6 separate regions of the Homo sapiens genome follow, and regions 2, 3, 4, 5 and 6 are each linked to region 1. The links are contacts of gene promoters, found by promoter capture Hi-C in blood cells and fetal thymus (Javierre and others, 2016). All regions are on one chromosome and are shown on one strand. The core of a region is centred on a gene start or on the middle of the fragment in contact, and the rest is flanking DNA. Distances in the headings are between cores, read along the strand shown.

Region 1 (3,711 bases), core at 824-3,323:
GTGTGTATATAAAGAAATGATCAGAATACTCTAATGACAAAATAAACCAGATAAAGGTCTTTGCTTTCCAAATAACTACCATGTCTTTATTTCACCTAATTTCCTTCATTCGTATGATTTTTTACTTAGTAGAAAACAAATCATGTTGCCTTTAAATACAATTTTAAAAGCAATCTCAAGGTTACACATAAAGCACCCAATCACTCACCTCCAAGAGAAACTGGCAGATGTTTTTTCTTTGGTCACCTTGAAGCTGAATAACCTCTCCGTATTCAGGATGTTCAATCACAGTACCATTACAGGCAAATTTCTGGAAAAGTGCATAAATATACAACAAAATTTAGTCAACTACTATGAGGTTTTATTTCACCGTATGAACAGAATTAGCCATTTCAGTAAGCTAGATCATATTTAGAGAAACAGATTTTGTCTCCTATAATCCACAATCCTTCCAAATTAATTTGTAAACCAGGAAATGATTTTATGTGTAACATCAAGAACTAAATATTTCACATTTAAATTTATTTAAAAGCAACGCGAATCTTCTTTTAAAATGAGAGACCACACTGGGAGAATAACTAAATATTTACATGTTAATTACAAAAATGAGAACAACTTTCTTGGTCTAGTTATTTTCATCCACGCCGATATAAAGGTGTGAATCATAATCCAGTTCAGAGGTGTGCATCAGTAACTCTAATCCTTTCTTCCTAATCCCTTTACCTTTTTGAAAGCTTTCACAAGTTTCTTTTTGTCATAATCATCTGCAATGCCCTGAACAGTAGTCAGTGTCTTTCTGCCGTTCCGTTGCTGGATTCTTATATGAATGTAATCCTCAGTCCCTGCCGGGAGTAAGTCGTCACCCTTAGTTGCATCAGCAAAGGGGTCTGCGAATGGATAAAAAAAAAAAAAAAATCCAAAGTAGAAAAATATTTTTTAAGAAGTACTTTCCAGAAATACATTATACTACCAATCCAGACAGTCATCAATGAAGGTTCTAGTGCCTTTGCTGTTTTTGCCGGTAGGAATGGAGATGGGGGTGGAGTATTAATAAAACCCCCAAGATACTCTCACAAAAAGAGAAACATTTGAACAGCTATGTCCATTGTAGAAAAACGCTGTTATAGATAAATAATGTTATCGTTCAATATGGTCCTCTAATGAGAAAAAGATTTAGAAAACCTTAATATTGTAGCCGCTATAAAAATGTGCGTCATCTCGATTACATTCTGATGAAAACATAAACATTCGAATACGCCCACCTTAATCATTTAACCGTAACTGTGCCTTGCCAAAAAAAAAGTAGATTACATATATATCAAGAGGCGTAATTTAACAAATTGCTACGCAAGCAGAGAAGACTGAACCACTGGCCAGTGACAGATCAGAGGCTTGCATCCGCATCTTTCCCTAAGTGCCCCCAGGAGCTGCCAGAGAACGGGCGCCGATCCCTGGTTTCCCTGGCCCGGCATACCCTTTGCAAGTAGCAGGGCCGATCTAGGAGTCCACGAAATAGGATCGCCAAGGTTTCAAGGGGCAGAAGCGGAGGCGAGAGCCGGGTCAAGGACGGGGCAGGGGGTGGCGCAGGGCCCGCGGCCGGGGCTCCGAGAGGAGGGCTCGGAGTCCGGCGCTGTCCTCGGGGAAGGGGTCGCCAGGGGCCCCGTCGCCATTTTCTGGGCGCCGAGACAAAGCCCCACTAGGGGTGCGGGAAGGGCAGAAAGGGGGCCCCTAGGGGCGGTGGCCAGGCGGGCAAAAGGCCGAGATGCGCGCCGGGCAAGGGAGGGAGGCGGCGGCGACGGGATCTTACCGAAAGATTGGAGGTTCTGGATAGTGGACATGCGATACTAGTGTGAGGCCGGTGAGGGGATAAAATTCCTGCGGGGCCCGCCCGGATCACCTTGTCAGGAGGCTGTAGTGGCGAGAAAACGGAAATAAATAAGAAAACGCTTCGCCCTGGGGTTGGGATTAGGCTGGAGTGGCGGCGGCGGAAGCCGGGAGGAGGCAGGAAGAGGCGAAGGAGGAGGCGGAGGAAGAGGCGAGGGCGCGAGAGAAGAGGCGGCGCTGCGGCTTCTCGCACAAAATGGCCGATGGAGACTATTTAGCCGCGCCCGCGGCCCCTCCCACGTGACCGTCCCGCGCCGAGCATCCTGGGACTTGTAGTTTTCTGGAGGCAGCAGAGCCCGGAAAGCCTGAGGCCGGGGGCGGCCGAGACCGCAATTCCCGTCACGGAGTGCGTCCTCTAGCGCGGGGCGGAAGACCCGCGAAGTGTTCAAGCGGCCGCAGAGCGGCCCAGAGTTCGCAGGTCTGGGGCTCTCTTCCCAGAGAGCTCGTAGGGGAGGACAGTCAAGGGACTCAAGCGTCTCTCTTGACTCCCCTTCTCTCGCTGTGCAGTGGCGGCGCCGAGGGGTCGACGCTCAGGGCTAATCTCTATGAGTCACCCTCGAGGCCCCGGGTAATGTAAGTAAAATCGGGGTGCAGGAACAAAACAAGTCCCCTTGCTCCGGCTTTCAACTCATTGGCCCCCGCTCAGCAACTACCTGCATTGAAATTCCAACCCCAGTTGCAGGAGCGGTGTTAGTCTCAACCAATACTGGAGATGGGAGCCTCTCTTTCCAGGATTGGACGGACCTCCGATTCCCTAGCACGGTGGATCTCAGACTAAAGCGTGTGTCTCTGGAGGGCTTGAGAAAACACTGATAGACCCCAGAGTTTCTGTTTCAGGAAGTCTAGGGTGTGACCTGAAAATCTGCAATTCTCATAAGCTCCTTGGTGATGCTGATCCTGCCTGCTGGTCTGGGATCAGGCTTGAGAATCACTGCCCAGCTTAATCCTGGGCCTGGCATCGAGTGGGGGCCAGGTGTGTATGAACAGAAGATACCAGAAAATCAGCTTGTCAGCTCATTTTGTGTGCCTCAGAAGGCCCAACAGAGAATTCAGGAAAGATGCCAGGTATAAGCTGAAGGTGAGCTCAGCAAATAGGTTAATTGATGGAGTCATGTACCAGACCGTAATATCTTCCTATCAGGTCACGCACAGAAAAATAAACCCGAGACTTTGGGAATTGGCTCACTCAGGCAGGTGTGTTCAATTGTCAAACTTGGTTGGCTTTCTGGAAGCAAAGAGATAGACTAAAATTTAGGGATTCTTAACTTTTTTGTGTGTGCCATGGCAATCCTGTGAAGCTGCTGAATCCCTTCTCAGAATAATGAGAAGTTAAGTTTTAAGTTCACAAAGTACATAGGATTACAAAGGAAACCAATTATATTGAAATTTAAAAAATACATTAATAACGTGTATTTCTTTATTAATACACTAATAAGATCTAGCAAGATTAGGTCTAATACTATAATTTCAAAAAGCTGATAAATGTAAGAGATATTTTGTGATGTCCGTAACATCAGAAATTTAATATGAAAGTATGTGTAACTTCTGTTGGTGCGAAGTGACAGGTCCTTCTATCACTATGATGTTGCCTTTATTCATAATGGAAAGAAATGGTAAATTTTGCTTAGAGGTTAATGAAAATGCAGATATAATCTTTCCCCATCCAATTTTAGGGATCTCCACCCCTGCAGTTTTATCCATGAGCCAAGGATCTGCAGACCGCAGGTTAAGAATACCTGGATTTGACAATCTTTTGTAATTAACAATGATGATAAGTGCCATTTATTTAGTACTTACTGTTTGCCTGTTACAAAGCTTATATATAAC
Region 2 (3,711 bases), core at 784-3,283, 2.5 Mb before region 1:
TTCTGGTGCCTCCCCAAATGTGCCCTGCCCTCTGGCCATTCTGAACCTTTCATAGTTCCCCACACTCATCACATTCTCTGCACATGCTGTTCTGGCAGGAGAGCCCGTTGCCCCCCACTCAGGCACCGTCCCTTCCCCACCCAGGTGAATTTCTTCTGCATTCAGCTTCAAATTGACTGAGATGCCTGTCTCTCCTGCAGCTTCTCTCTCCCCAGACAGCCTCTCAGAGTGCTTAACACCTCTCATTCTCAAACCAGCTGAACGTTAGGCTCACCTGGGAAGCTTTAAAAATACAAAAATGTTAGCTGGGCGTAGTGGTGCATGCCTGTAGTCCCAGCTACTCGGGAGGCTGAGGCAGGAGAATCGCTTGAACCCAGGAGATGGAGGTTGCTGTGAGCCGAGATCGTGCCATTGCACTCCAGCCTGGGCAACGAGAGTGAAACTCCATCTCAAAAAAATAAAAATAAAAATAGACACCCTGGCCACAGCCCAGATAATTAATTTCAAATCTCCACTGGCCTCATGAATAGCACAGATTAGATACTAATACTCTGGGGGCCGGTCTGGACCACAGGTGTCCTCTCAGTGCAGGCATTACTGTCTATCCCAGAGGCTCCGTTGGGCCAAGAGCACCACTTTTCATACAGTGATAATGATAATTATTTCCATGCATTCTTCCACTTAATCTCACAAACTCCCTGTGAAGTTCGTAAGTATCAGAGTCCCATTTTACAAATGGGAAACGAAAGCAAAGAGGTTAAGTAATTTGCCTGGGGCACAGTGTACATTCAATGAGTACCAGTTCCTCAGTGACTTCAAGTGCAAATTGGGAGTAGAAAAGGAGAAAAGCTTTACAAGTTACTGTGTTCATTCATTCAGTGACAATTCTACAAATGACAGTTGAAGGCCTGTTCTGGGCAAGATGTTGAGATTTAGCAAATGAATAAGGTATTAGGACCCCTGCCCTTAAGAGGTCTCTTTGTAAAGGGAAGTAATGTAAATAAAATAATAGATAATTATAATACACTGAGGTTAAGTTTAGTGATCAAGGGGTGCCCTAGGGATTCTGGGAGTCCACAGAGTGCCCTGAGGGGAATCCTAGAGGCTAACTGGGAGTTAGTGGGAAGGTAAAGGGCTGGGATGGGGAGGCCTGGGAGGAAGGCCTCCCAGGTAGAGGAGTGGCTGAAGCCAGCCTCTGAGATGCCACTGGGCTTAATCCACAGCAGGAGCCACAAACCCAAAACATCTGCTGTGGCTGATGGGAAATAAAAGTGAATCCAGCAGGTTTAAGAGAAAGAACAACATTTATGTGCAGTGATAATGGGCAGCTGATGTGCCAGCTGCAGCATCTGGAGGTGGCAGGGACAGTGGTTTAATGGAAAGAACCTATTATGCACCAAAGGAACTCTCTGCATAGCAGCTGCTGTCCGTGTGGGACGATGGGCCCAGCATTGCCAGATCTGTAAACTTTTATAAAAGAAGCTGGTGTAAACTAAACATAAAATTCAGAGGCCCCCCATCCATCTGAATGGACTTCCTTCTCAGCCAGGGCACTCCAAAGTTAACCTGAAAGACCAGTTCAGGCCTTGATGGGAAGCAAGGGTTGGACACGCCTCATTATACCCTCCTCCCTTTTGGAATTCAGGAAAAGTTGACCAACATTTAACATCAACACAGACCTTAAGTCTGATAAGAAACATTTACAATCTATTCTCTCTGAAGCCTGCTACCTGGAGGCTTCATTTGCATGATCAAAACTTTTATCTCTTTTATTCTAACCCAGATATTCCTTTCTATTTATAGTAACTCTTTTAACCAATTACCAATCAGAAAAATTTTAAATCTACTTATCACCTGGAAGCTCCCCCCTCCCAACCTTGGAGTTGTCCTGCTTTTCTGGACCAAATCGGTATATATCTTAAATGTATTTGATTGATGTCTCAGGTCTGCCTGAAATGTATAAAACCAAGCTGTGCCCTGACCACCTTGGGCACGTGGTCTCAGGATCTCCTGAGGGCTGTGTCACAGGCCATGATCACTCACATTTGGCTCAGAATAAATCTCTTCAGACTGGGTGCAGTGGCTCACACCTGTGATCCCAGCACTTTGGGAGGCTGAGGTGGGTGGATCACTTGAGATCAGGAGTTCAAGACCAGCCTGGCCAACATGGTGAAACCATGTCTCTACAAAAACATACAAAAATTATCTGGGTGTGGTGGTGCATGCCTGTAGTCCCAGCAACTCAGAAGGCTGAGGCAGGAGAATTGCTTGAGCCCAGGAGGCAGAGGTTGCAGTGAGCCAAGATTGTGCCACTGCGCTCCAGCCTGGGTGACAGAGCGAGACTTCATCTAAAAAAAAAAAAAAAAAAAAGTACATCTCTTCAAATATTTTACAGAGTTTGACTGTTTTTGTTGACACTGGAAATCTGATATTGAAACTACAATTCTTTGAATGTTGGCAACAAATTCAAATCCTAACATAGTGTTCTGTAAGAGCCAAACAAAAATGTCTGTGGGATGTGTTAAACTAACTGTAGCCTAAAGCTGCCTTCTTATATATTCTAAGTTCAGCCTAAAGGTTTCTCTGTACGTAGTAAACTGTAACCTGACTAGGAATTTAAACAGACTGCAATCTACTCTTGTACCAGTCACAGAGTTTCAGCCAATCACAGGCAGCCAGCTATTCAAATTGTATTCAAAAAAGGCAAACAGCCAGCTGTAATCAGTCTAGCTGTTTCTGTACCTCACTTGTGCTTTCTGTTCATCACTTTCCTTTTTCTGTTCATAAATCTTTTTCGACTAGGTGGCAGCCCTGGAGTCACTCTGAATCTGTTCTGGTTCTGGGGGCTGCTAGATTTGTGAATCATTCTTTGCTCAGTTGAATTCTGTTAAATTTGATTTGTTTAAAGTTTTTCTTTTTTTATTTTGGAGACAGGGTCTGACTGTCACCCAGGTTAGAGTGCAGTGGCGCGATCACAGCTCATTGTAGTCTCAACCTCCTGGGCTCAAGCTGTGCTTCCACCTTGGCCTTCCAAAGTGCTGGGATTACAGGTGTGAGCCATCATGCCTGGCCTAACGTTTATCTTTTAACAAAGGATATAGCCTTTGGGCCAGCTATTATACTCACATGTATTGTTTATTACAATGAAAGAATACGGGTCAAAATCAGCAAAGAGACACATAGGGCAGAGTCCAGGAGACACCAGGTGCAAGCTTCCAGTTGTCTTCTCCCAGTGGAGTCATGTTGACAGTACTTACTTCTCCCAGAAACAATTCGTGGCAACTTACATGGAGTACTGCCAGCCAGGGAAGCTCCCCTGAGTCTTGGTGTCCAGGGTTTTTATTAGGAGATGGTTACGTAGGTACAGTTGACCTTAGTCACTCGATCTCCAGCCCCCTCCAGCCTACCCTGCACCTGGCAATGAATCACATTGTTAATTAACATGGACTGGAATGGCCCAAGGTCCCCAGGTGAAGAAAAACACTCTCATCAGGAAGGATGGTCCAAGGGCTCAGAGATTCTCTCTTAGGAGCGGGTCAAAGGCCAAACATGTTTTTTGGAATGTGCGGGTGTGCACAATACAGGTTTTCAGAGTTAATTCTTTATAGTTCCTCTTACTGGGCAGAGCTGCCTGGTAAGGAATTTCAACATAACACCAGCTTCTGCTTTTGTTTGACCTTTGCCAAACCCTGGGCTCAGCCCACAGCACAT
Region 3 (3,711 bases), core at 413-2,912, 2.3 Mb before region 1:
TACCTAGCAAAGGAAATACATTTTATCCTGAAATATCTATTTGAATACATATCCCTGAGATATAAGTCAAAAAATTAATGAATGAGAACTAGTAGGAAGAGTGGCATTGGGCACTGAATATATTACATTACAAAATTAAACCTAAATCACTATAATTATGGTTTTAAAATAAAAGGAAATGAGGCCGGATGTTAGAGCTGCCAGGTATGACAATGCAAACAGTGTTAATTATGGTTTTAAATGTTATCAGTATTAGGAAACAAAGTTATGTAATGGCAAAATTTTTTTTATGTACCATCTGAAAATGTTCTTTCTTTTGAATAGGAAATGTTCTCATGACTCAAAAATCAGTGGAAAAAGGTACAGGATGAGAAGCCTTGTTTCCCAACCCTATCAACAGGTACTCACTTTCATTAATTTTCTGTGTATTTTTCCAGTTTCTTTTCATACACAAGCAAATATTGATAAATTCTTATTTTTCTTCCTTTAAAAAATGGTAGATTATGCACACTGTACTGCACCTTGCTCTACTAACATATCATGAACTTTTCTCATGCCTGTGATATAAAAATAATGTATTTTATTTTTTAAGAGACAGAGTCTCGCTCTGTTCCCCAGGTTGTAGTGCAACGGCACAACCTCTGCTCACTGCATCCTCAACCTCTTGGGCTCAAGCAATCCTCCTGCCTCAGCCTCCTGAATAGATGGGAACATAGGAGCATGCCACCATGCTTGGCTAATTTTTGTATTTTTTGTTGAGACAAGGTCTCACTATGTTGCCCAGGGTAAAAATAATTTCAGTTGGAGGAAGGCAGTGGAGAATCAATAAAAACCAACAAGGATTTGGACTGGTGAAAGAAAATACGCATCCTCATACTTCATAGTGGGAATCAATAGGTAGACTTTTCTGAAGCAGAGAGGAAATAAGGGTTTAGGCATACATTTTTTTTTTTTTTTTTGAGACAGAGTCTCACTCTGTCACCCAGGCTGGAGTGCAGTGGCACGATCTTGGCTCACTGCAATCTCCGCCTCCTGGGTTCAAGCAATTCTCCTGCCTCAGCCTCCCGAGTAGCTAGGATTATAGACACCTACCACTATGCCCAGCTAATTTTTTGTATTTTTAGTAGAGATGGGGTTTCACCATGTTGGCCAGGCTTGTCTTGAACTCCTAACCTTGTGATTTGCCCGCCTCGACCTCCCAGAGTGCTGGGATTACAGGCCACCATGCCCAGCCAAGGGTTTAAGCATACTTAAACAGGTATTCACAAGTAGAACTAACAATATTTTACATCTTTCAAGCTTCTTTGGTGGGAGGGGCAGCAACCTAGTAAAAGATATAAAACAAAGGAAATAGCCAGAAAAACATAAAATATAAGGCCGAAACAACTTAATTATTTAGCCACATGAAGCTTTTTCCATGACATGTCCATAAACACCCAGCTAAAGGTTTCCTGCAGATAGTACAAGCAAAAACTCAAAAGAGAACATATTTACTGGCTCATGTAGTTATGATGAGGATATTAGTGCAGATCAGAGAATCAAAGGGCCAGGATGTCAGGAAATGAGGTCAGATGTTAGAGCTGCCAGGTCTGACAATGCAAAAAGTGTTAAATACCACTTATTTATCCTGATCACTGCATATAGTCATAAATATTTTCATTAATGAATAAAACTAAAGATAAATTAATCACTTAGGAAGATAAAAGGAAGAATACCAAAATTTAGAAAAAAGAATTATAAGATAGTATACAGATAAAAAACAGGCCCAATAAAGAAACTAAAATGCTGCTAACTATCCAAAAGAGTGCTGCTATTAATTCTTTAGATATAGATGAATTACTTCTAATCTTCAAGTAACATTAAAGTGTAACACTATATCAACTGTTCTAGAGCACAGCAAAAGATGAAAAGCTTAATTTTTTTGAAACAAAATAAAATCGAAACCAAAGCCTGGGAGAGATGATATAAAACAAATTTAAAACCCCATATGCCAATCTCATTTTAAAAGAGACACTATTCAACATTAGGAAATCTACTAATATAGTTTATTGAAGTGAAGGAAAAATCCTATAAAAATCCCATGATAGAAAAAAAAAATCCCACGATAGAAACCAAAAGTGCACGGTGAAATTCAACATTCATATCTACTACAGAAACAACAAAATAAATTTTAAAAAAGAAAAATATAAATTAAAAAAAAGAAATTCAACATTCATTCCTTTATATGACACACATATTCTCAGATATTTTTCAAATCAACAATCAGCATTATCGTTAATGGTGAAACACTCCTGTAGCATTAATTCCAGTGAAGCAGGAAACAAGTCAAAAGTAGTTGTTAGCATCACTACTGTTTAATGCTCTTTCAGAAATTCTAGTCAATGTAGGCTAGGCGTGGTAGCTCACGCCTATAATCCCAGCACTTTGGGAGGCGGTGGGGGGCGCGGATCACCTGAGGTCGGGAGTTCGAGACCAGCCTGACCAACATGGAGAAACCCCGTCTCTACTAAAAATACAAAATTAGCGGGTGTGGTGGCTCACTCCTGTAATCCCAGCTACTCGGGAGGCTGAGGCAGGAGAATCGCTTGAACGCAGGAGGCAGAGGTTGCAGTGAGCCGAGATTGCACCATTTTGCACTCCAGCCTGGGCAACAAGAGCGAAACTCTGTCTCAAAAAAAAAGGAAATTCTAGTCAATGTAAGTAGATAAGAGGACAATAGGAGAGATTTACAAGTAAAAAAGAGCATATTTATCACCATTTGAAACATTAGCTATACACCTAGAAAGCCCAAAAGAACCAACTGAAATACCAACAGATACTGAAGTTGTTGATATTTATATTATGACAAACAAGAACTAGTAGAACAAAATACAGTAAAAATCACATTCTCAAAAACAACAAGAAACATTCTACCTACATAACCATAAGAGTATAGGATCTATAAAAACAAAACTCCAACTTTGAGAGGCATAATGCCAACATGAATAAAGGGAGAGATACCTTGTTCTTAGACAAGACTCAAAATTGCAAATGTGCCCAATATTCCCTAGAGTAACCTATAATAACTTAATTGCAACCTTCAAAAATACCAGTGAGATTTCTGAGGGAACTTGACAAAATGATCCTGAAGGTTGTCTGAAAGAATAAATGTGCAATTCCCCTTCTTGAACTTTTGTTTTGAAATTTTCAAATCTACAAAGATGTTTTGCCATATTTATCCCTCTCTAAACACACAATCTTCTGGAACAAACTGAAAGTTAAAGACACTGTGACACTTCACCCCTAATTATTAATACTTCAGCTTATATTCCTAAAGAATAAAGATATTCTGCTACTTAAATCCAAAACCATTACTACACCAAAGAAATTTAATAGTGATTATCATCTACTCCATAGCTGTGGCATAACATGAAACATTACATTTGACCTCTGTCCCCAGTTCCTACATTTGACCTCTGTCCCCAGTTTCTAGCACAGTGCTCCTAAAACTTGTAATTTTCTAAGTGATAGGACTGATAGGAGCATCTTTTGTTCTATTTGATCTTTCTTCTTTTTTTTTTTTTGATATATGAGTCTTGCTCTATTGCCCAGGCAGGAGTGCAGTGGTATGATCTCTGCTCACTGCACCCTCCACCTCCCAGGTTCAAGCAATTCTCCTGCCTTAGCCTCCTGAGTAGCTGTGATTACAGGTGCTCGCCACCATGCCCGGCT
Region 4 (3,711 bases), core at 788-3,287, 2.3 Mb before region 1:
CTTAAAAGTCAGGTCACTCCTTATGTGATGCAAAAGCAAGTACTTATCACCTTCTAATATATTCCTGCTAAAAATATTAGAACATGAGTCTGCATGAGCCTCTAGATCTACTAGTTTACAGGAAAAGTGGATGATAGTGGCACATAATTAACAACACTACAGAGATACAACTGTATGTAGAACACGAGAGAATTCTAGGGTAAACACCTAGTTATTTCAACAAATAAAGAAAAAAAGGAACTATTAAGTATTCTTTAAGTGACTTAAAGGAACATCAACAAAATACAACATGTGAATCTTATTTGGATTCTGGTTCAGACAAATCAACAAAAAGACTATCTGATAACTGAAGAAAATTAAACATCATCTATTATCAGATGATATTAGATAATAATTAGAAATCACTATTCATTTTGTTGGCAATGATAATAGTATTGTTTTTATATACTTTATGGTTAAGTCCTCACAGTTATTCTTGAAAACCAAATGGAATACTTATTACATGAAAACTTCTATACCTCCACATCAGTATTTTATAGAAAAATAAGCTTTATTTCAAAGCAATCTGAAAACAGCAGTCAGGGGGACCACATTTACAAACTGATAGGAAGGAGCACACAGTTACATGTCCATTTAGCAAGGTATCAAGTCAGGAATCTCACCAATTCCTGCCCAACACCTACTGAGTTTCCTCTTCAGGTTGAAACTAAAAAGTAGACTTGAACATCCCAGTGATGTCTTTGTTATCCAAACATGCTCCAAGTTCAGGAAAGAGGACACCTGGGCTCAACTTATTGAGGGATTTGCTTAATTATTTAAAAAATATTTACATGAGAATACAGCTAAGTTAGTAGCTTTCTTCACATTTTCACGTTTCGAAAGAGCCACAGAGGTTTCATTCATGTTTTAACCAGTTGAGTTGGTAAAGACCCTGTCTCCATTTTGTAAGAGATGGATTACATTCAATTACTCCTCACGACAGCCAAATGGAAGATTATTCTATTGCTTTTGAAAGATTATTCCATTGCTTTTGAAGTGCTGGTTGGACTGGCATCTGCAATGGTAGCCAAATAAATGAGATTTCTATGTAACACATGCTGGTACCTATGGGCAAAAAAACAGGCAAAAATCAGAGGCTTGTTTTTACCGACCATGAACAAAAAACTGGAAAATAATTTACCCACTCTAGTGGAATGGCTCATCCACTGACTGGATGATTCAGTGTTATCAACCTTCTTGTTTAACATATTTAAGGAAAATATAGTCAGATTCTCACCCATTCTTACTGATTACTTTCATAGCTACTATCATTTCTTGCTTGAACTATTGCAGTAGACACCTAGTCTCCCAGATCTATCTTTGCGCACCTACTTTATTCTCCACATAACAGCCTGAGAGATTACTGTACAATTTAAATCAAAATCATGTTATATGTCTATTCAAAACCTTCCAAAGGCTCCCATCTCATTCAGGTAAAGGTGAGCTGTTCTTGTGTCCTAATAAGGCCCTACATGATGGGGGCCTCCAGTCCCCCTCTGATCTCACCTCTTATGGCTATACCTTTGTTCACTGAATACTGGCCACAGTGGCCTCCTTCTGTGACTTGAAGATATCCGGCACACTCCTACTAGGGGGCTTTTCCACCTGATGCTTTCTCTGTCTTACTTATCTCACTATGCCTTACTACTGCATAGCTGGCTCCCTTACCCCAGGTCTCTACTCAAATATCACCTTATCAGACATACCATGTATAAAATAGCACTCCTCCCCCCACTTACTCTGCTTTATTCTTATTCAAAGCACTTATTATTATGTGCCTAATTATACATTTCCTTATAGATTCTAGAGTCTAGAATGTCAGCTCTGTGAGTGCAGAGCTGGTATCTGTTTTACTATGGATTTCCCAGAGTCTGAAACAGTGCCTGGTACCAGGAGTACAATTGTCCCTTGGTATCCACAGAGGATTGGTTCCAGGACACCTCCCTCCTCCCCTTAGATATCAAAATCTGAGGATGCTCGAGCTCAAGTCCCTTATAAAAAATGGCATAGTATTTGTATATAACCTACACACAGCCTTCCATATCATATACTTTAATTTATTTATTTATTGAGACGGAGTCTTGCTCTGTCACCCAGGCTAGAGTGCAGTGGCGTGATCTTGGCTCACTGCAACCTCCACCTCCTGGGTTCAAGCAATTCTCCTGCCTCGGCCTCCCAAGTAGCTGGGATTACAGGCACACACCACGCCTGGCTAATTTTTGTATTTTTAGTTTTTAGTAGAGATGGGGTTTTGCCATGTTGGCCAGGCTGGTATTGAACTCCTGACCTCAGATGATCTGCCCGCCTCAGCCTCCCACTGTAATGCCACAGTACTGGGATTACAGGGATGAGCCACCACACCTGGCTCACAGTTTAAATAATCTCTAGATTACTTATAATAACTAATACAACTTAAATGCCATATAAATAGTTGTTATACTGTATTTTTTTTATTGTTGTGTTGCTATTTTTCATTGTTTTGTGCTCCCCAATATTTTTGAAATGCAATGCAGAACCCATGGATACAGAGGACCAACTGTACTTATAAAATATCTGTTCAACAACTTCAAGAAGGGACAAAACATTTTCATGATCAACATAAGTTTACGGTGGGGGGGGTAGAGTTCTTCACCCAAAAAAATAAATCAGACAAGGGCTCAGAAAGCATGGCCTGTGCAATTGAAAAACCCCACTAGGAGATTTTGATAACTTTCTTACCCTTGGGTTGAGAATTACTGTACCAAATGGAATGTTTTGCAACCATTTTTCATATAGAAAAAGGAGAAGGTATTTACCATAAACTTTTAAAAATCAAATTACCAAATGCCAGAGTCAGATGTAAAGATTTACCCAAAAACTGATATCTCTACTATTCTATTAAGGTATTCAGTGAGGGACTGTAGGTAATTTTTCTAGGGGGTAGGGATTGTGAAACATTTCTTCAGTAACAATGAAATAATATATTTTTCTATAAGAAATGGGCATAAGGTCGGCCGTGGTGGCTCATGCCTGTAATTCCAACACTTTGGGAGGTCGAGGTGGGTGGATCATCTGAGGTCAGGAGTTTGAGACCAGTCTGGCCAACATGGTGAAACCCTGTCTCTACTACAAATATAAAAATTAGCAGGGCGTGGTGGCACACGCCTGTAGTCCCAGCTACTCAGAGGCTGAGGCACGAGAATTGCTTGAACCTCAGAGGTGGAGGTTGCAGTGAGCCGAGATTGCACCACTGCACTCCAGCCTGGGTGACAGAGGGAGACTGTCTCAAAAAGAAAAAAAAAAAGAAAAGAAAAAAATGGGCGTAATACCTGGACTAGATTCGGAAAAGAGACTCAGACTCTATTTTCTCTCATTTTGGTATCTACTTAGGGAGTGCATTAAATTATTATGCACAATTTACCTTTGACTTAACTTGTAAATCCTTTGTTTGTCTTTGTGTGTGTGTCACTAACAGACTGACGGGAAGTTAGAAATGAGAGGAAGCTTAGCAGTCAAATGGCCTGACCCCTTCACTTAACAGAGAAAGGATGAGGCAGGGATCCAAGATGAGAAAGGGGCCATGGCTCTAATCTCCTGAGCTTAGTTTTCTGTGTGCTCTCACCCCCATCCCTGTTGTCATCAGCCGGCATAGCTTTGAGTGAAGGAGGCTTTGCAGTGAGAATAATTCACATT
Region 5 (3,711 bases), core at 827-3,326, 2.2 Mb before region 1:
CTGCAGGCACCAAAGTGCTTAGTACTTTGACCATTGTTTTAAGTAAATCAGCTCCATTTACTGGGATGTGCATCCCAGCTGGCAGCCAGCAATCCATTGCTGCGGAGGGAGAGGGGTCCAAGCTGAAGCTGAACAACTCAGTGCCTAAGAAGCTGCACAGCCAAGTCCTTTCCACCCCAAACAGCTCTCTCATTCCTGTTGAGGGCTCTCTGGTGGAGCCTCTGTCTCACAGGTCACCTGCAGGCCAACACTCCCAGAAGCAGCTAGCACCATGGTTGACCTCGTCCAGGTCCAGGGAAGGCCTCCCTCTCCAGGACTCCTTTAGATTTCCCCAGCATCCAGACCTCACCTGCCTAAGTGCTGTTGCCCTGGAAGCCACAGTGAGCACGAGCTCCATCTTGCACCTTTACCAGCCAATGGGGGTAAAGACATTAGCTGGTAAGTCATTTAAAACTTATTGAAAGTAACACAGTTGTGTGATGGAGCATGATACAGTTACTCGTATAACTGTTAAAAGATAGGAGACTTCAAGGAAACTGTCTGTGGTTCCTCTTTGGGGTCATGTGCTTTCTCTCCTTCCCATAAGGGTTACTCAGGCTGAAATGCTCAAGACACTCTGTCTCAAGGGATTTGTGGCTGTTTCATCCTCAAGTATAGGGGGAATAGTGGCCAGGAAGATCTCAGAGGTGGCTTCTGGAAGAGGAATCTGGGTACTGGCTACCCTGCCTTGTGTCCCATCATTGGTCTGTCTTGCCTGTCTTGGAGCACATTTCTCACCAAGGTACCATCCCAACCCCATCTCCCACCAGCAACAGGGTTCTTTCTGCTTTCTGGCCCCTTCCCAGCGTCTCCTGATTCTCCTGTCCATTCTTATCTCTCATAACACTGTAACGTCAAAACAGGATGGATGGTAGCAGATATCTCTTGTTTCTGCCTTCCACCATCCTTTACTCTCTTCTGGTGCCATGTCCTCATCTGTGTCTGGGAAACAACCTCCTTCCCTACCTCTAGTTCATGGAGTTCTGATGAACCCTCTTCCAGGGGATTGACATGTGACCAAGGCTTAAGTCCATCAGAGCATTCCTGGCCACAGTGCCTGACACATGGCCTGAGTCAGGCTACTCAGAGCCAGGAGGCTCACTCCTGGGACTTTGGATTAAGTGATTAAGAAAGTGAATTTGGTTTTTCCCCACTGGACTGGAAACCTTAAAGGAAGCAAGGGCTCAAGCTTCTGCTGTCTTCTTGTTGACAAGTGGAACACACGGATAAAAACTATACAGCTGAAGGCAGAATAGAGAGATGGAGAAAAATCAGGTTCTCTTAATATTGTCTGGGTCTGTGAATGCAGCCATGCCTGAAACCAGCTCTACTGCTAGCAACATGAGCTGATGCCTTTCCTTTATGGCTTGGATCAGTTGAGTTTTCTGTTGGTCGCTGTAAACAAAAGTGTCCAGCCTTGCCCTCTGAGGACAAGATAATGGACGCCCTCACTTTCTGGGCCTTCTTAAGCCAGGACTGTGGCCATATAGTTTGCCAAGAAATATTTGTTTCCCAATCACCATGGGCGCCTAGGATTTCTGGCAGCTTCTGCTTGCGACTCTCTGAGGGTAGAAGAGTGTTGGGTCAACTTCTCCAGCCAACTCTGCCCCCTCAGCAGCACAGACACACAGCCCTTCCTTAGAGGCAGTTTGGAGAGAAAGGAGGGGTGGGTACCGAAGCCTGTGGTGTTTATGAAACAGTGGGTGTGGTCTGGAAGATGAGCTCTCTCTTTGTCACAATTTAGTTTAGTGTTGAGCCCTATCTGGGGAGGGGTAGAGGAAATGGAGACCCAAAGAGGGACCTGAGGTCACCCAGCAAATGCGCATTCCCAGATGGGACCTAAGTCTCTGACCGCTGGTCTGGACTGCATCAATCCTTCAACACAGCCTCGCCTTGGACCCTCTGGTCAACCATTGCCCTTTGAGGGACCGGGCCAGGGCAGCTCCCTCTAGTCCTTATCACTAAGGAATTCAGGCAGACTTTGGACTTCCTCTCCCACTTATTTATTTCCCTATTCTAAACATCCTCATTATCCCTCTGGACTTCAGGAACACAGAGAGAGTTGAAAAATTCCCTGGCTGAATATAGCCAAGTCTACTGATGTCAGGGAAGTGTTCCAGGGTGGGATATAGCTGGAGTCTGGGCTTCCTACAGAATGGGTATGCTGTACTCATTCTGTAGAGGTAGGTCATGGAGGATGTGCAAGTTAGACAATTAGAAGTGGAGTAAGAGCACCCCAGAAAGTAGAGCAGCGTGTGCACAGGCATGGAGGCATGAAAATGCCTAATACATGCAAGGCTGTGAGAAGCCTGGTGTAGCTGCAGCAAGGAGTTCTGGGGGCATCAGGAGACAAGTTGAGAGATGTAGACTGGGGTAGGATTGGGAAGGGCCTGGAATGCCAGTTTTCAAGTGTGAGCTTTCACTCCTAGGCCATGGGGGCCAACAGAGACTTGAAGCAGGAGACTGAGGATGGGGGATACACATTTTACAAAGATCCCTCAGGTTGCAGGTGGTGGGGCTGAAAGCTACTGCACCAGTCCAGGCAGGAACTGATGAAGCCTGGGCAGGACAGTGGGTATAAAGAGAGGGCACAGAGAGGAGGGGGCAGGTGGAATGAACAAGACTTGGTTAGTCCCTGTCTCCAACTAGACTCAGGATTCTCCTGCCAACTCCCTGTCATTCACCTCCCACATCCCGCTAGCCCCATGGCAGAGGACAGAAGAAGACCAGGATGGAGAAGATGCTGTGGACTTCTTCAGTCTTCTTCAGCCTGGGTCCCTTCTGGGCTTAGGAACTCCTGCCCCAAAGAAGGTGCTGAGAGCCCAGCCTGGACCAAAACTCTCTAGCCTCAGCTCAACGGCAGGGTCAGGCTGCCTTTAAGCTTACTTTTTGGAGCTCAGTCAAGCATAGGAATTGGTGAGGGGCTAGAGAGAAAGCCCTGCTTTTTCCTGTCCATGTGGGGTTCTCTGAGATCTGGAGCAAAGGCTAGGTGTGGTGATGGGGGTATGGGTGAAGATGCTGGGAGTTGTAGCTGTTAGATGCAAGGGGCTCTGAAAGACAGGGTGGGCCATGCTCAGGTTCGTAGGCCATGTTCAATCCCCTCAAGGGAAGCCTGAGACCACAGCTACTGCCTCGAATCAGAAGCCCCAGCCTCATCATCTGGGGCCAGAGAACTAGGGCAGGAGGAGCCAAGTAGCACAGCAGGAAGCATGAGTCCCTCCGAGGAGAAGCTGGTCTCTGAGAGGAGCACAGAATGCAGCAGGCTGGATAAGGTGAGGCAGGAGAAAGAACTGTCTGCAAATTGCCAAGCATGCAGAGCCTCCATGGATGATTTGTGCTTCTGAGGTTTGTCAAGAGGGCTATTTTATTTTTTTCCAGCCTGCAACTGTTAATGGAGGCAGGGGAATGGGGAGTAGAGGACAGGGGGCTCAGGAGTGGTTTCATTTACCCTCTCCCACATGACCCTAGCCCTTTACAGAAACCATCTCATATCTCACGACTTATTTACTCTACTCTGCCAGCCCCCTGCTGAAATCATGGGGTAAAAAAGAGACACAGGGGGAATGGAGGAGCCAGAGAGAAAGCAGTGTGATCACAGGCACACAGGACAGCAGCTCACCTTCCCATCCTTGCTGGCTTTTGCACGTGAGTGGGCGAGAACGTGCAGCCCTT
Region 6 (3,711 bases), core at 796-3,295, 2.1 Mb after region 1:
CAAGAGGCAAGTAAAAACAAAAATTATTTCACGAAGTTCTTTTTAAACCCACAGTGAAATAAACACTGACACCCCCAAGGCAGCTAGGAAGTCTTCAGTTGGTCTTTGTTATAAAACTAATTTTAGGGCAGGATGCTGGCAAAGCAGATAATTCGCCTTCCTCCAATACACAGGTGTCTGCTCATGTCCGTTGGATTGAGCCTGTATAGCTAAACATTTTGATTTCCAAGGTCACTGGGTTATTGTTGTCCAACAAATACTCCCCTCATCCCCAGTCCCCAGCCTCCTCCCAATCCCTAGGCTTCTGTGAGAATTACAATCTATGTGCAAGTTTTGGTCTCTGCCAACTGGTATTCCTGGACCCCCTTCAAATCTTTTCACACACCAGCCCAATTTATCGGATCACGTCAAGGCACTATTTGAGGGCCTCCAGTGATACTTAAAATTCCAAAATCTGTACCAAAGCTGAGAAGATCCCTAAGATCTGGCTCCTCCCTTCCCTCTCTATCCTTGCCAGCCTTCCTTCAGGTCCTAAAACAAATCAAGCTCTTCCCTTACTCAAGGCCACTGCATCTCTATATCCCTCTGTAAGGAAAAATCTTCCCGAGGCTCTTAATCCTCACTTCTCATGCTTCAGGGCTCAACTGAAATGTTATCGCCTCAGAAAAAGAATTTTCCTTGAAATCACCCTAAGTAGATCTCCAGGTTATTCTCTATCAGAACATCTTGTTTATCTCCTTCATGGCACTTGCCAAAGCCTCTTCAAATTTTTTTTTTTTTTTTTTTTTTTTTGAGTCAGAGTCAGGGTTTGTCGCCCAGGCTGGAGTGCAGTGGCGCGATCTCAGCTCACTGCAAGCTCCGCCTCCCGGGTTCAAGGATTCTTCTGCCTCAGCCTCCCGAGTAGCTGGGATTACAGGCGCGCACCACCACACCCAACTAATTTTTGTATTTTTAGTAGAGACGGGGTTTCACCATATTGGCCAGGCTGGTCTCGAACCCCCGACCTCGTGATCCGCCCGCCTCGGCCTCCCAAAGTGGTGGGATTACAGGCGTGAGCCACCACGCCCAGCCCTTCTTACTTCTTTTTGTCTTCTTATTTAATGTCTACCTCCCCGACTGGAAAGTCAGTTGGAAGGAGTCGTAAGTTGGGTCTCGGTTGCTCAGCGCGGTTCCTGCAGCTTCACCTGGAGGATCCCCAGTTCGCCCCAGCACGGATGGAGGAAAAACTTAAAGCTCCCTATCTATCCCACAATCCCAGAAATCGATGGCTGTGCCCACTTCAAGATCCCATTTCTCACACAGCCTCGGAAAGGCCTGTCCCACACCTGCACTTTCTTTCTCTACAAGACACATGGGCCGCTCCTGTCCACACATTTGAGAATCCTGTACACAAATCTCTCCTGAGCCCCCTCAAGCCTCACCCCACCCCACGCCACCTCACAGGCGCGCGCCTCAAAACCCCCTTCCCGTCTCACACGCGCTCCTCGACACAAGCGTCCTACAAGCCCCCAGCCCCACAAGCGCCCCACGAATTCCTATGAGGGCTGCGCTCCCCGAGCTCCCGCGGCTCCCCACGTTCCCGTGTCCCCCGCCTCCCAGCGCCGCGCCTCCCCCCTCCGCAGCGCCTGCTCTCACCGATCACCTCCTGCAGCTCGTAATCGTCCCTGTTGATGGACCAGGGCAGGGCGCTCGAGTCCTCGGACATGACGGCGGCAGCGGCTCGCGGTCCTCCCTCAAACTCGCTGACCTCGCTCGTCTCCTCGCCGCGCGTCTCCCCACCCCCAACAGCCGCCGCCGCCGCCGCCGCGCCCCCACCAATCGTCTCGGAACAGCCACGGGTCGGACGGCGCCGGGGCGCGGGGTCACCGCGCGGCAGAGCAGCGGGGGCTCAGAGCTCCGGCGGACCTCGCCTCCTGCTCCTCCGAGTCCGGCACTGCCCGGCCCAGCCCACGTCCTGTCCTCGGCCTCCGCAGCAGCAGCGACAGAAGCTTTGCCTGGGCCCAGCCCCTCTGTCCCGCCCTCCACCCCAGCCCCACGCACGGGCCAAACTTTCCCCTCTTCCTCCACCTGCCGACACGCAGCGCGCTGACGTCACTGCGCTGGTCACGCCCCACCTCGGGCCCGCCTCCGGCCGCCATCTCCAGTGTGGCTGGATGTAAAGTGAGCAAGCTAGAAACCCGAGAAGGTAGGAGTTCGCGGTGAAAGGGAAGAAGTGCTTAGGTAGAGGTTCATCGAAGGCATCGAAAAGCCGTAGGAGAGCCTCAAGTAGCACAGAGGCAGTAGCCACACTAAGCATGGCGACCAAAGGGCAGCAAAGTAGAAGGGGCAGAGCCACTTCTAGCGCCTGGGGCACGCTGCTGTCTCCGTCGTCGCATTCATTGGTTTGTTTGAGAAGGAATCAGAAAAGCAATGGGTGTGGGTAGACGTCAGTCATAAATTGGTCCCGCCTCCAGGCTCTTAGCGCGCTTCTCCGTGTTAGGGCTGCAGCCCTTCAAGAGCTCCGTTACCGCGCTCGTCTTACCACTTCCTCTGGAGTGACGTCACGGCGTAACCGTCACACCCTCGAGACGTGCGAAAGGCTCTACAGGGTGTGGAGAAACCCTGAGGGAGCGGCTGGGTGGGGTAGCCTTTGGGTGTGGACCACTGCCAACTAGGATAAAAGGCCTTGGGCCACTGGTCGGAGTGAAACTGGAAGTTTGCCTGGTGACATTTTTTTCAAGGCGGACGTTCTCTCTAACGCTTGTCGCGGCGCTGTCTCTCGCGGGTCCACCCTGCACTGGGCGGGTTCTGTCCATTCGCAGCTTTAGATCTGAAGCTCAAATAAGCACCTGCCTTGAGGGACTCGGGAGGTTGTCTTTCTTCCCCCCGGACAGGGCTTGGGGTATTAAACAAGTGAGATCGACCCACGGATTTGGGGGTTGTCTCACGGGCGTTGGCTTTTGTCGCCCCCACTGAACAGTTTTCTCAGTTTGACTACGTACGGCCGTTAGAGAAATTAGCGAGCTGAAGACTGAACACGCTTGGTAAATTGGATTTTAAAAAATAATGAGCATCCAACAGGGATAGGGCTAGGTGCGAAACTGTTCTAGGTTGGACACCTTTCAGTCCAACGGCAGTCTTTAAGGAAGAGACCTTAGGCCGGGTGCGGTGGCTCACGCCTGTAATCCCAACACTTTGGGAGGCGGAGGCGGGCGGACCACCTGAGGTCAGGAGTTCGAGACCATCCTGACCAACATGGTGAAACTCCCTCTCTACTAAAATACAGAAAAATCGCTGGGCGTGGTGGCTGGCGCCTGTAATCCCAGCTACTAGGGAGGCTGAAGCAGGAGGCGAAGGTTGCAGTGACCCGAGAGCATGCCACTGCACTCCAGTCTGGGCAACAGACGGAGACACCGTCTCAGAAAAAGGAAGAGACCTTCACCTAGGCCCAGCTGAGACGGAGCAGGGACCCCTTTTAGGGCCTGCAGGCCCTCAACCATGGAAATAAAGGAAAATCTTGAGTTACTTCAAGAGAAATTCCCGGCACTTAGCTAGCCTTGAAAAGTTAATGAACCCCTTGATAAGCAAGAGGGCAGTAATAACTTTAAACATTAGCCAAAGAAACTAAAATAACTGGATGTTTGGTTCCCTATAAAAACTAAAGATAACATCAACACATGTCCCTGAGTTGTTTTTTAGAAACCCAGACCCCCACCAAATGGATCTGCTGGC

What was found. The method cuts DNA at HindIII sites, captures the fragments that hold promoters and counts their contacts. A CHiCAGO score of 5 or more calls a contact.
Region 2: a fragment that was not itself captured here is called in contact with the fragment with the promoter of EIF1B in region 1 in 1 of 17 cell types (monocytes); the score reaches 9.0 in monocytes.
Region 3: a contact is called between a fragment that was not itself captured here and the fragment with the promoter of EIF1B in region 1, in 1 of 17 cell types (total B cells). The highest score is 6.9, in total B cells.
Region 4: a contact is called between a fragment that was not itself captured here and the fragment with the promoter of EIF1B in region 1, in 3 of 17 cell types (neutrophils, naive B cells and total B cells). The highest score is 9.3, in neutrophils.
Region 5: a contact is called between a fragment that was not itself captured here and the fragment with the promoter of EIF1B in region 1, in 1 of 17 cell types (monocytes). The highest score is 5.8, in monocytes.
Region 6: a contact is called between the fragment with the promoter of OXSR1 here and the fragment with the promoter of EIF1B in region 1, in 2 of 17 cell types (total B cells and naive B cells). The highest score is 7.6, in total B cells.

What each region holds. Positions count from the first base shown.
Region 1 is chr3:40,308,069-40,311,779 of GRCh38, reverse strand. EIF1B (eukaryotic translation initiation factor 1B) reads right to left here and starts at 2,073. Exons shown (of 4, transcript NM_005875.3): 1 at 1,808-2,073; 2 at 724-887; 3 at 209-310. The coding sequence starts at 1,838. EIF1B-AS1 (EIF1B antisense RNA 1) reads left to right here and starts at 2,082. Exons shown (of 3, transcript NR_033965.1): 1 at 2,082-2,457. It overlaps LOC124906228 (a long non-coding RNA gene), which reads left to right and starts at 2,969. Exons shown (of 2, transcript XR_007095876.1): 1 at 2,969-3,711. RefSeq lists a silencer at 1,663-1,712 and an enhancer at 1,983-2,342. The HindIII fragment of the contact is 2,965 bases long and covers 737-3,701 here.
Region 2 is chr3:42,762,163-42,765,873 of GRCh38, reverse strand. The region is part of intron 1 of CCDC13 (coiled-coil domain containing 13); the gene reads left to right. Among named protein-coding and RNA genes, the nearest start is that of CCDC13-AS2, 6.6 kb to the left of the region's middle. The HindIII fragment of the contact is 2,363 bases long and covers 852-3,214 here.
Region 3 is chr3:42,608,981-42,612,691 of GRCh38, reverse strand. The region is part of intron 2 of NKTR (natural killer cell triggering receptor); the gene reads right to left. ZBTB47-AS1 (ZBTB47 and NKTR antisense RNA 1) reads left to right here. Exons shown (of 3, transcript NR_125400.1): 3 at 325-382. Among named protein-coding and RNA genes, the nearest start is that of NKTR, 10 kb to the right of the region's middle. The HindIII fragment of the contact is 502 bases long and covers 1,412-1,913 here.
Region 4 is chr3:42,591,815-42,595,525 of GRCh38, reverse strand. It overlaps SS18L2 (SS18 like 2), which reads right to left. Exons shown (of 3, transcript NM_001370300.1): 3 at 1-1,104. The coding sequence ends at 1,017. It also overlaps a transcript of SEC22C not described here. Among named protein-coding and RNA genes, the nearest start is that of SS18L2, 2.8 kb to the right of the region's middle. The HindIII fragment of the contact is 2,974 bases long and covers 551-3,524 here.
Region 5 is chr3:42,508,785-42,512,495 of GRCh38, reverse strand. The region is part of intron 1 of VIPR1 (vasoactive intestinal peptide receptor 1); the gene reads right to left. Among named protein-coding and RNA genes, the nearest start is that of VIPR1, 8.0 kb to the right of the region's middle. The HindIII fragment of the contact is 1,692 bases long and covers 1,231-2,922 here.
Region 6 is chr3:38,163,871-38,167,581 of GRCh38, reverse strand. OXSR1 (oxidative stress responsive kinase 1) reads right to left here and starts at 2,045. Exons shown (of 18, transcript NM_005109.3): 1 at 1,636-2,045. The coding sequence starts at 1,705. It overlaps LOC101928234 (a long non-coding RNA gene), which reads left to right and starts at 2,106. Exons shown (of 5, transcript XR_940733.2): 1 at 2,106-2,185. RefSeq lists silencers at 1,551-1,600, 1,651-2,040 and enhancers at 1,272-1,887, 2,281-2,380, 2,651-2,780, 2,931-3,010, 2,171-3,370. The HindIII fragment of the contact is 1,868 bases long and covers 1,991-3,711 here.